Linked DNA regions of Homo sapiens: region 1 is linked to region 2. The links are contacts of gene promoters, found by promoter capture Hi-C in human tissues and cell types (Jung and others, 2019). All regions are on one chromosome and are shown on one strand. The core of a region is centred on a gene start or on the middle of the fragment in contact, and the rest is flanking DNA. Distances in the headings are between cores, read along the strand shown.

Region 1 (6,082 bases), core at 1,163-3,662, 160 kb before region 2:
TGGGATATCGATTGACTTGCTCAGGGCTGCACAGCTTGTAAGTCGTAACACTTGGATTTGAACCATTGCCTTTCCATGTCATGTGCATTGAAGACGATGTTGACCTGCTTCGCAGTGGTCCTACCTGTTTTGGGGTGCGCTATCATTCCTCCCCACCCCACCTTCTGGCTTCTTGTAATCACAGCCTTCGATTTTTATCTGATGGTCCACCATCCCCTAGATCTCAGCCCTGTGATTGCCTCAGCTCCAGAAGGGATGCAGGACTGAGGTATGCCCCACTGGAGAGTTCAGTTGAGGCTTCGGGGAAGTAAAAAAAAAATGTTGGCTGGGCACAGTGGCCCACGCCTGTAATCCCAGCACTTTGGGAGGCAGATGGATCATGGGTTAGGAGTTCCAGAGCAGCCTGGCCAACATTGTGAAACCCTGTCTCTATTAAAAATACAAAAATTAGCCGGGCATAGTGGCATGCACCTGTAGTCCCAGCTACTCCAGAGGCTGAGGCAGGATAATTGCTTGAACCTGGGAGGCAGGGGTTGCAGTGAGCCGAGATCGTGCCACTGCATTCTAGCCTGGGCGACAGAGCAAGACTCTGTCTCAAAAAAAAAAAAAAGTCCTTTTGCCCAAATATTTCAAGATGAGAGGTTATAAAGTCTGCTGCTGCTACGCTAGTCCTGCTTCCAGTAAAGCCTAAGGCTAAAAACAGCTCAGGAGAAGGCAGACCTGAGAGCTGGAGAGGTAGAGCCCTGAAAGCATGGTGCCTAAAGCCATATCTAGGGGTGTTGCTACTTGGGGGTCTCTTGAGCCTCAAGCCGTTCCTGAGGCCTTGACTTCCAGCTCTGCTGTGCCTCACAGCATCCAAGGAGAGATTCTTATTCACCAGACAACCCTCTTCTCTGGACAGAGGCTCCTAGGAGATGCCAGAATTGTTAAGGCCATCTGGCCCTGTCTATGTGACCTTAAGTGGCTTGTTGCCCATCTCTGGGGCTCAGCCTGTCTTCTGTGCAAGGAAGGACGAGGACTTGATGGTCTCAAGGACACTTCCAGTTTTGACCTTCTACTTCCTAAGGGTATTTAATCTACAGGCAGACAAGGGATGGCCCAGCCTGCCCCACATCTGTTCGTGGTGAGCACAGCAGTTTCCAGAGAGAAGCCATTTGCCCAGGACCCAGCAGGAAGAGCAATAAAGAAATCCCTCAGCTTCCATATTCTAATTAAATCAGCACAAATTTAATTTGGATGTAATTTTTAAAACATGACCCATAAAAATATCCACAAGCACTGCTCTATTGGGCCTCCTGGAGGAAAGATGGCCTCAGAGGCCAACAAAAGGCCTGATTGGCGCTTTAATCAATAGGTATCTGCGAGGAGACAGTAGAAGGCTCCAGGGGATCTGTGTGTGCTCAGGAGGGCGTTCCTGTGAAACCAGGGATGCGAAGGGCACCAGGACAAGGTAGAGTCAAGAAGACACTGTGGGCTGGGAACGGTGACTCATGTCTGTAATCCCAGCACTTTGGGAGGCCAAGGCGGGTAGATCATGAGGTCAGGAGTTCAAGACCAGCCTTGCCAACATAATGAAACCCCGTCTCTGCTAAAAACACAAAAATTAGCCGGGCGTGGTGGCATGCGCCTGTAGTCCCAGCTGCTCGGGAGGCTGAGGCAGGAGAATCACTTGAATCCAGGAGGCAAAGTTTGCAGTGAACCGAGACCGTGCCATTGAACTCCCGCCTGGGCAACAGAGTGAGACTCCATCTCAAATAAATAAATAAATAAATAAATAAATAAATAAATAAATAAACAAAAAAACAAACAAACAAAGACACCACGAGGCCTTCTGTGATGCTTCAAGGCAAAGGAGGGGAAGAGACAACAGTTCAGGACCAACCTAAAGTGACAGCAGTGTAAGATCAGCCCGAAGTGGGCATGGATGACCATTCCAGAGGCTGGAAGATCGACAGGCTGCACAGTGGGGTCACTAGCTGGGGGCTTGTCGAGTCCCTTAATCCACCTAAGACTCAGTTTTCTTGTCTCTAAAATAGGAATTCTGATACCTGCCTTGTGCACCTCATAGAGTGGTTTTGGAACCAAGGCTGGGATGAAAGCCCCTTGGAAATGGTAAAGTCTCCTTCAAAGGCTAGAGGGCGCCAGGTCACCATCACCTCCTTATTAGTTGATCTTTTCCCAAAGGGGGCTTCAACGTTTCTACCCAGAGTTTATCCTAGAGGTAGCACAATGCAGTGGTCCAGTCTTGGCCTCCAATGGAGACCGCTTGGGTGAAAAGCCTGGCTCTGCCACTGTCTGGTGGTGGAGCCCCACACAAGCTTCTTAACTTCCCTTGGCCTCCCTTTCCTCATCTGTAAAATGGAGATGATGGACGTGATACTTACCTCCTAGGGATATTGGGATTTTAAAAATCCACTTGTGTGAAGTGCTAAGCTGTGGGCCTGCCCAAAAGCAGGTGTTTGTAATTACTGCAGTCGTGCCTGCCAGCCAGTTTCACTCCTCCTCCTCACTGGCACTGCTGCAATTCAGAACAGCCTTGCCCATGGATGCTCACCTGGACAGTGGGACCTTCCCACACCCCCTGCCTCCAGGGCCTCCTCTCCATCCCAGCCTCCTTGCCAGCTGCCAGAGGGTGGCTTACAAGGCCTGCTGCTTCCCTGGCCCCTTAGCATAGAGTCCTCCCTGCTGGGCACGGTACTCACAGCTTTTGCATAATCTGGCCCAAACACGCACCTCCAGCTTCACCTCCTTCCGCACCCACTCCATTCTCTAGCTGCTCTGAGCCGGCTTCCTGCTCCCTAAAGCCCATGTCCATCACATCTTTGTTCATTCACTTGCACCACACTCACATCTTAGAGTGTTTCCTCCCCATTACCTCTGTCACCCTGGAAAACTCCAAAGGTGCTTTCAACCCTGATTGCTCCATCTGCCACCCCAGTCTCTCGTGAGTGGCTCCTTGGCCTCCTTTTCCTGTTATATTCCCACCTTCTCCTGTTCACATACCACATTTTAGCAACACCAACTGCTCACAGGCTTCCCTGGTTTGGGCTGATGAGTAAGAGCTACTGTGGGTAGAGTTTCCCAGGGTGGGAATCCCAAGAGATGTGGAACCCTCAGTCCACACTCTTTAGCCCTAGAGGCCCAACAAGTTGGGACCAAAGGACTGAATCACCTTTTTCCTTCTAATGAGCCCTTTCCAGGGATTTTTTTTTTTTTCAGAGTTTCACTCTGTCACCCAGGCTGGAGTGCATTGGTGCAATCTCGGCTCACTGCAACCTCCGCCTCCCAGGTTCAAGCAACTCTCCTGCCTCAGCCTCCCGAGTAGCTGGGATTACAGATGCACACCACCAGGCCCAGCTAATTTTTGTATTTTTAGTAGAGATGGGGTTTCATCACGTTGGCCAGGCTGATCTTGAACTCCTGACCTCAAGTGATCCACCTGCCTCGGCCTCCCAAACTGCTGGGATTACAGGCGTGAGCCACAGTGCCCGGCCTCCAGCTTATTTTTATGCATATGCTTTCATTTTTAATTTTGTTGAGAAATTTTAAAGATACAGGAAAAACATAAAATCAGCACCCCATATGCACCTACTTATCCACCATGCAGAACTGACAATTTGTTCATGTTACTTGCTTTGTCTTCCTTTTTAGAAATTTATAAAATTTAAATCACATATGTATTATGACATGACAGCCAGACTCAAAGTCTCTTTCTTCCTCATTCCTAATTCTATTTTCTTTCATCCTGCCAAGGCAAACATGATCATGAATTAAATGTGCACTTCTCTGGTTCCATTTTTAAACTTTGGCATAGACACAGAAACCCCTGATAATTCGTAGTATTGCTTCGTGTGTGTTGATCAGCATAAGGGGTAGAATTTCAACATAACCTTCTTCTCTGCTTTCTGCAACACACTCTTCTCATTCAACATGATCGTCTTGAGATTTATCCATATTGCTGCGTGAATCTAGCACATTCCTTTAATTGCTTTTAATTTTATTTTATGAATAGACTCCATTTTATTCAGTTACTCCTCTGATTGCCTGAAATCTAAGTTGTTTCCCTTTTTTTTTTTGTCATTAATTAGTGCTGCAGTAAATACCCTTGCACACCCCTGGGGGGGTTTCTCTAAGGTGGAAACCTAGATGTGGAATTGCTGGTCTTAGCTTTCGTTGCATTTTCAGTGTGGCTGGATATTGCCAAACTCCTCTGCAAAGTGGCTGTGCTAATTCTCACTACTACCAGCAATGTCTGAGTGTGTCTATTTGCAGGAGGCCCTCATTTTATAGGAGAGAAACTGAGGCTCAGACCAGGCAATGGAATTGCCCAAGATCCTGCAGCTAGTCAGTGGTGGAGCCTCGATTAGGACTTGGGCTCTGGACACCACACAAAGGAATGAACTTCCAGAAACATCCTCCTTTTGCCCAGCCAGAGTCAAATTAATGACAAATCTTCCCTTGACCTCTGTCTGATCGGTCTTTGTCCAACCTTGGGAAACACTTGTATTAGTTTCTACTTTGCTAAGAAAGAAAAAAAAAACTCATAATAAAAGTTACTGGCTAATAACAAGTATCTTGTGTCATGGAAATTTTGCATATATTCTTCAACAATAAAAATGAAAACATGTTTTCCTTTAGTAAAGGAATTTCTGTTCTACTGCACTTATCACCCCTGGGAAGGAAATCTGATGTACCTTGACTCTATTTTATGACCATCTTGGAGAACAGCGATGTTGTCAATGGAAGCATGAAGAAACTATAGGAATAAAATTAGACAGAGATGGAGACAATGATACTAAAATAAATATCATTTGAAATTGGATTTTGTGGTAACAGCACAGCAGTCGTCACTGGGAGCGTGAAGGTCACGCGTCAGACATGGAGAACACCAGGCCCTGGTGCCAAAACATTTTGCTTCCAAAAGCATGGTCCTCCCTGGACTGCTTTCAAGGTTGCCTTTACCTGTAACACCTCCATCCACACAAGGCACGGTCAGTGCAGAAACACGTGACAAGGCTGACACACAAAGATGGGCGAGTCGGGGCACGGGGAAGGAAGTTCACCTGTCAGGCCAAACTCAGATCACAGCCGCCAGGTGAGCCACTGGGTGGTGCCAGAAAGGTTCCTGCAGATGTCCTGGCAGAGAAAGGTGGAGAAAGATCCCCGCCTAGTGGAACAGACAGTGGTCAGGAGATAAGGGAGATCCCAACACTAGTTACTTGTTTATTGCCTCTCCCATCTACCAGACTTTTTCTTTTCTTTTTCTTTTTCTTTTTCTTTTTCCTTTTTTTTTTTTTTTTTTTTTGTGAGATGGAGTTTTGCTCTGTCACCAGGCTGGAGTGCAGTGGTGCAATCTCAGCTCACTGCAACCTCCGCCTCCCGGGTTCAAGCTATTCTCCTGCCTCAGGCTCCCGAGTAGCTGGGACTATAGGCTCCTGCTGCCATGCCCAGCTAGTTTTTTGCATTTTAGTAGAGATGGGGTTTCACCATGTTTCCTAGGCTGGTCTCGATCTCCTGACGTCGTGATCCGCCCGCTTCAGCCTCCCAAAGTGCAGGCATTACAGGCGTGAGCCACCCACACTCAGCCTACCAGACTTTAAACTTCTTGACAGCTATAGCTTTTTCTCTGATTATCTTAATATTTCCAAAGTTTAGAAATGTTCCTAACACATAGTAGGTACTCAATAAATGTTAGTTTTTGAGTCAATGACTGAATGAATCCTGGGAACATCATCCCCAGCCAAGCCAGAGCTCAGCTTGTCCAGGCTGCAGCAGACTATCTGGCAGTAGATCACCCAACCCAGTCCAGCCTTGAAGAACCCCTCCCACCAGATTCCCCCTCCATGAAGCCTCTTCTAGTTGCTCCAGGGGGGCTCTCTAGTCTTTTTTAAAAAATATCCTGCTTCCTTCAGAGTAAGCCCCATACAATCAGGCAAGTATTCCTGGAGTTCTCTTGGCAACTTCCTCTCCCCGTGGTACATCAGTCACCAAAGCCCTCTCCACTCCACCTTCCAAGTCCCCTTCCCCTGCCTTAGGCCAAATCCCATCTTCTCAGCCAGTCTCCCTGACTTCAGACCTACTA
Region 2 (6,485 bases), core at 1-2,500:
GCCCAGAAAAGACTAGTCCCAGGAGACAGGCGCGCAGGGCCTACTTACGATGGTGTCGCACCAGAACTCGGCCACCTCGTGCACCCGCATGGAGGTAAGCAGGATCTCCCAGACCTCGAGCTTGAACATGTTTCCGATGATGATGTGCATGGGCTGGCCCACCTGCCGACTGTCGTCAATGACTGTCCGCTCCTCATCACATTTCATGGTGCGGAAATGAAAGATCACCTAGTCACCGAGACGGTGCACTCTGCTCTAGACACACTGTTCAAGGCCCGGCAGAAGCCACCCCCTTGCCACCGACACCCAGGGCTGTCCCCAGGGTCAGCTCACTCAGTTCACCCCATCAGATGCCTCAGACCCCTGGAGCACCTCCACCCTGCCTGCACCCCCCAGGGAGGAGGGACCCACCCCTCCCTACAGACCCCATTCCACTCCCCACAGCCCTGTGCGTCCAGAAATCCTTCCTCAAGTAAGCCCGAGTTCTTTTTTTTTTTTTTTTTTCTGAGACAGAGTCTCACTCTGTTGCCCAGGTTGGAGTGCAGTGGTATGATCTCGGCTCACTGCAACCTCCACCTCCTGGGCTCAAGTGATTCTCCTGCCTCAGTCTCCTGAGTATCTGAACTGGGATTACAGGCGCCCAGCACATCTGGCTAATTTTTGTATTTTCAGTAGAGATGGGGTTTCACATGTTGGTCAGGCTGGTCTCGAACTCTTGACCTCATGATCTGCCCATCTTGGCCTCCCAAAGTGCTGGGATTACAGGCGGGAGCCGCCTCGCCTGGCCAAAGCCCGAATTCTGTAGCCACAGACGCACCCTTCAGTCCAGGGAAGCCTAACAGACATTTGGGGACAAATACCAAGACTCCTCGGACTCCCTTTCTTCTCACTCAACATTTAGGGCCCCAGAAAATTCCCAAAAGCCCTTCCCCTCAGCCCATGCTAAAGTTGAATCTGCAAAGTACCAAAAATGCCCCCTGAATGGGTAAACGCTGGGAGCTCCCCGGAGGCCCAGCGCTGGGGCTGCCTGGCTGTTTTTTTGGCACAGCTGAAAGCTGTTTACAGTGCCTTGGGGCACACCTGGAATGTTGAAAGCTGCTGTGGGGGACCCTGTCTGCTCCGGAGGGGCCCCACTCACTCGGGATCCGGTGATGAAGTTTGGGAGCTCGCCCGTGCCCCCGTGCAGAATGGTTTTCTTGACCCCTTCCACGTTCAGGAGCAGAGCGGCATCCATGGCTGCAGGAGAAAGGGAGGTGTCCAGCACAGGCGGAGATAATCTCACCTCCGGGGAAGACACTTAGGCGGCTGAGACTCTGGGATTTACCCAGCCAGGAGGAGTGGGGGGAAGGGCAGACGGTGGGGGCGGTGACCTAGGCGCCCCGGCTTCTCATCAGAGCCACTCGGGCCGGGCCTGTGGTCCACAGGCAGCCTCGCCTCCTATCCCATCCACCTTTGCTTCCAGTGATTCTGGGCCCCTGCCCAGGGTTGTGCTAGATTTGGCTTTTTGTTCCACCCCAAGAAGGAAAAAGGTCCGCTGAGCTTTCTTAAAGAAGACAGGGGACCAGGCGCGGTGACTCACGCCTGTAATCCCAGCACTTTGGGAGGCCGAGGCGGGCAGATCACAAGGTCAAGAGATCGAGACCATCCTGGCTAATATGGTGAAACCCCATCTCTACTAAAAATACAAAAATTAGCCGGGGGTGGTGGCGGGCGCCTGTAGTTCCAGCTACTCGGGAGGCTGAAGCAGGAGAATCGCTTGAACCCGGGAGGCGGAGGTTGCAGTGAGCCAAGATAGCGCCACTGCACTCCAGCCTGGCGATGTGGAGAGAGGCCTGGAGGCCACTGAAGGGGAAAAGGAGGGGAGGCATGGGCTGGGCCCAGACTCTAAGTCCCCGAGGACCCCAGGCCAGCCGGGGTGACAGCTGCCCTTTGCCATCCAGCCACCTTTCTGCTTTCCCTGTTCCCCCTCCCCTCCCCAGAATCTGCCTTCAGGAGGCCCTGCGATGGTGGCCCAAGGCAAGAGGGGACAGGTTTCTGGCTTGGGAGAGAAGGAAGACGGAGAACGAAAGGCGGGGTGGGTTTGGGTAAAGTTGAGGCGCCCTCCGCAGCCCCGCTCCTGCCTCCCCTGCAAGGTCTGGCTGGGGGAAGGGTGGGTATCCCCTCCCCTCCCCTCCCCTCCCCTCCCCTTTGGAGGCCCTTAGCCCTGTGCCCTGGGAACCAGGCAGAGTTTATTGAGGGCATCAGGGACGCCCAGAAGGGCTGGGAAACATAAATGCGAAGACCTGGTGTTTGGCACCACCGTGTGGCCAGTTCAAGCTCCTACACCTCCGCACCCTGAGGGCACTGGACTCAGCTCCACGAAACCATTCTCTTCCTGACACCAGGCTCACCGGTTGCAGAGGGAAGGGGTGCAGGACTCTGCTACAGGGAGAGATAAAAACACGGGACTAAGGAGGCTGAAGTAGGTGGATCACCTGAGGTCAGGAGTTTTGTATTTTTAGTAGTCTGTACTAAAAATACAAAAATTACCCAGGCATGGTGGTGCGCACCTGTAATCCCAGCTACTCAGGAGGCTGAGGCAGGAGCCTCGCTTGAACCCGGGAGGCGGAGGTTGCAGTGAGCTGAGATCGTGCCACTGCACTCCAGCCTGAGCAACACAGCGAGACTCTGTCTCAAAAAAACAAAACAAAACAAAAAATGCTAGACTAGGCTGGGTGCAGTGGCTCATGGCTGTAATCCTAGGACTTTGGGAGCCAAGGCAGGTGGATCACCTCAGATCAGGAGTTAGAGACCAGCCTGGCCAACATGATGAATCCCCATCTCTACTAAAATTACAAAACTTAGTCGGATGTGGTGGTGGGCACCTGTAATCCCAGCTACTCAGGAGGTTGAGGCAGGAGAATCGCTTGAATCCAGGAGATGAAGGTTGCTGTGCACCAAGATCATGCTGCTGCACTCCAGCCTGGGGCACAGAGTGAGACTGTGTCAGAAGAAGAAGAAGAAGGAGAAGGAAGAGGAGGAGGAGGAGGAGGAGGGAAGAGGGAAGAGGGAAGAGGGAAGAAGAAGGAAGAAGAAGAAGAAGACTGGACTGAGCCAGATACAGCTAAGTTCAAAGGGCTGATCCTTTCCTATTTACTGACCTTGTTGCCTTGGATGTCTCTCGTTTTCTCTAACTGCATTTTCCCAACTGAAATGAGAAAATTGACCTCTCCTGCTCCTTCTCAGGGGAAGTTGGGAGGGCTGCAGCAGTGAATGGCACCCTGAAATCCGGCACTCATGAAAGTCTTGCTTCCCGTGAGGAGTCATTGGCATAGAGGAGACCAAACCTGGGCCAACTGGTCAGGCCCAGGGAATCCTGGCCAGATCCCCAAGGGTCCAGTCTCCATCCCTGGAAGGCAGAAGGCTGCTGAAAACCTTCCCCTTCTCTCTTCCATCCTTTCTCCAGCCACACGGCAACCTAGAGAGGTCTGCATGCATAGGTAAAATGGATACTTAGTAAAACTAATACAGGAATTATTAAGAAATAATTTTTAGGCAGATAGTAAGGGTAAAGGTTCTTGGTGGAAATTTTCCTGCAATAAAAAACAAGCCCCCAAACCATCTCTTTTCTAACAGAAAAGGCTGCTTAAAGGGCCAGGCTGGCAAACCTTGACATGCAAATGCTGGCCATTAGAAACTGGGTTCACTCATATGGAGATTCCTGCTGTCTTTTCCCTGTCACCAGGTGTACCGAGTGTCGTGGCCACCTCCAGATAACACCTTGTGTTCAGAACATCATAGCGACCCACATTTGCATATTAAAGGACTAAGGTGGGAAGGCCAGGTGTTTTGCGGGGTTTGTAAATGACACACCTGGTCAAACCAATCCCCTGGGCCCTATGGAAATCAGACACCACCTCCTCAGCCTCCTCATATAAGCAGCTACTTCCCACCACCCTCACCCTAAACAGGGGGTTTTCTCTTTGTTCAAATCCCCCCCCTCTGTCTCTGTATGGGGGGGCTATTCTCTTCTTCCTTCCTTCTTTCTTGCCTATTAAACTTTTCACTCCTTAAAACTACTCCACGTATGTTCGTGTTGTTAATCCTATTGGAGCAAGACCAAGAACCCTGGAGTTCCTCCAGTCATCAGAGCCGTATCAAAACTACAAAGGAAAATAAAAGTATTTATCATAAAAGTCTAAGGAGACAGGAAGAACACACTTGTCACTTGCGGGTGGCAAGTGTCTGCTTCTGGGATGCTGGCAGTGCTCACCCTTGACCTAGGTGATGGTTACATGGGTGTTGGCTTTATAAGTACAGTAAGTCCTCACTTAATGTCCTTTTAGGTTCTTGGAAACTGCAGTCTGAAATGAAAGGACATACATCAGGTCCTCAAATAACATCGTTTCAATCAATGTCATCATTTCATTATAATGTTGATGAGAAAAAAAGGTGGTTTCCTTATATGTCATTTCATTTAAAGTCAGTCTTCTTTTTTTTTTTTTTTTTCTGAGATGGAACTTTGCTCTTGTCACCCAGGCTGGAGTGCAATGGCGCGATCTTGACTCACTGCAACCTCCACCTCCTGGGTTCAAGTGATTCTCCTGCCTCAGCCTCCCAAGTAGCTGGGATTACAGGTGCCTGCCACTTCACCCAGCTATTTTTTTTTTTTTTTTTTTTTTTTTTTTTAGTGGATACGGAGTTTCATCACATTGGCCACTGGCCAGGCTGGTCTCAAACTCCTGACCTCAGGTGATCCACCCACCTTGGCCTCCCAAAGTGCTGGGATTACAGGCGTGAGCCACCACGCCCGGCCTAAAGTCAGTTTTCAAACACCTATTGACAGCATTAAGTAAGGACTCACTGTATTCATGACACTAGATTTTATGTCTTAGGCAGTTTTCTATCGGTGATATAATTCACAGTGAAAAGGATCCAATCATGTCTCTTCTCACACTTCTTAAAACTCTCCCACTGTTTCTGTTGTTTCCCTTTGTAGAGGGTCGAAGGGCACACACACATTGCAGAGATGTTTAAACAGTAGAACTGATAGATGTAGCCTGTAGCTGATTGGGGGATGTGGGGGCGAGAAGAAAAGGGGATGTTGAAGCCGATGCCAGGGGGGTTGGTTTCCCTGCTGAGAAGAATGAGGATTCACTCCTGGTCTGTGCCTGGAGTTGTGCCACAGGCTACAGACTGATGCCCCAGAAACCCTTTGCCCCCTGTCTTAGTTCATTTTCTGTGATTATAACTGAACACCACAGAATGCATAATTTATTTTTTTAAAAAAGACATTTATTTAGCTCATAGTTCTGGATGCTGGGAAATCCAAGAGCATGGTGCTGGCATCTGGTGAGGGCCTTCTTGCTGCATCATAACGTGGTGGAAGGCATCACATGGTGAGAGGACAAGAGCACGCACATCAGCTCAGGTCTCCATTCCTCTTCTTGTAAAGCCTCCAATCCTATCACAGGGTCCTACCCTGATAATATTATCTAATCCTAATGACCCTCCAAAGGTCCCACCCATAAATATCATCAACATACGAATTTGAGGATTCGGTTTCCAACAGATGAAATTTGGGGGACACATTAAAACCATAGCTGCTCCCAAACCAGTCTCCTCATGGACTTTATTAAAATGCCAATCTAATAACCTACTGCCCTCTTCAAATTCAGCAAAGAGTTGCCACCACCTTCAGGACAAATTTTAAGCTCCTTCTCTGGCCTACAGACCCTGTCTCTTGCCACCCCATCCCCTACCCTCAGCCCCTCATCTCAGCCCCACCCTTTTTGTCTAGGCTTTCCCCAGTCCTAACGCTTGGCAATGCTCCAGACTCCCAACCACTGGCCCACTAGCTCCTCACTTCAAACACCACACATTCAGGGAAGACTACCCTGACCTCCAGCTCCTGTCAATCTCCCCATGCCCCTTATACCCTGTCACTTCTCCCTAGCACTGCACATTCATGCTATTTTGCCCCATTGTAATTGTTTACAATGATGTGTTTAATGTCTATGTCTTCCATCAGATTGACAGTTTCAGGAGGTCAAGGAAACTAGTGGAATGTTTGCTCTTGGACAAAGAGCCCCTGGAGAGCAGGGCTGGAGCTCCTCGTTTGTCCCCCTCCCCAACGGAGGCAAGGGTGATGCTGGATTCCCTCCCCCTCCAAAAGCCTCTGCTAGGAAAAAGTGACTGGTTTTTCCTCCTTACCAAGAACAGAAGCCAATGTACCGACCTCTGGACTAGGAGCCTCCTTCCCCTGAGTACAGCCTCCTTCCCTCCCTCCAGCCACCACTCCACGCAAGGCAAAAGGGAAAGGCTTCCCATTCATAAGAAAATGTTTCTTCCCCCTTTACTTGTTGCCATGGAGACTGTTCTTCATTAACCTGGCCTGCCAGTTACCATTCTGAGTGAGGGAAGATGGTGGAAAGCTCCAAGCAGGGAGGGCCTCTTTATGCATGCATGCATTCATTGTTTCACCCCTGATCTTAACAAAGTTGTGT

The links. The method cuts DNA at HindIII sites, captures the fragments that hold promoters and counts their contacts. A contact is called where the count stands out against the background at its distance.
Region 1: a contact is called between a fragment that was not itself captured here and the fragment with the promoter of AIPL1 in region 2, in 1 of the 25 tissues and cell types used here (H1 embryonic stem cells).

The regions. Positions count from the first base shown.
Region 1 is chr17:6,274,772-6,280,853 of GRCh38, forward strand. No RefSeq gene overlaps it. Among named protein-coding and RNA genes, the nearest start is that of AIPL1, 160 kb to the right of the region's middle. The HindIII fragment of the contact is 4,330 bases long and covers 248-4,577 here.
Region 2 is chr17:6,433,871-6,440,355 of GRCh38, forward strand. It overlaps AIPL1 (AIP like 1 HSP90 co-chaperone), which reads right to left and starts at 1,251. Exons shown (of 6, transcript NM_014336.5): 1 at 1,139-1,251; 2 at 49-228. The coding sequence starts at 1,234. It overlaps LOC107985017 (a long non-coding RNA gene), which reads right to left. Exons shown (of 3, transcript XR_001752776.2): 3 at 3,428-3,467. The HindIII fragment of the contact is 7,871 bases long and covers 1-4,095 here.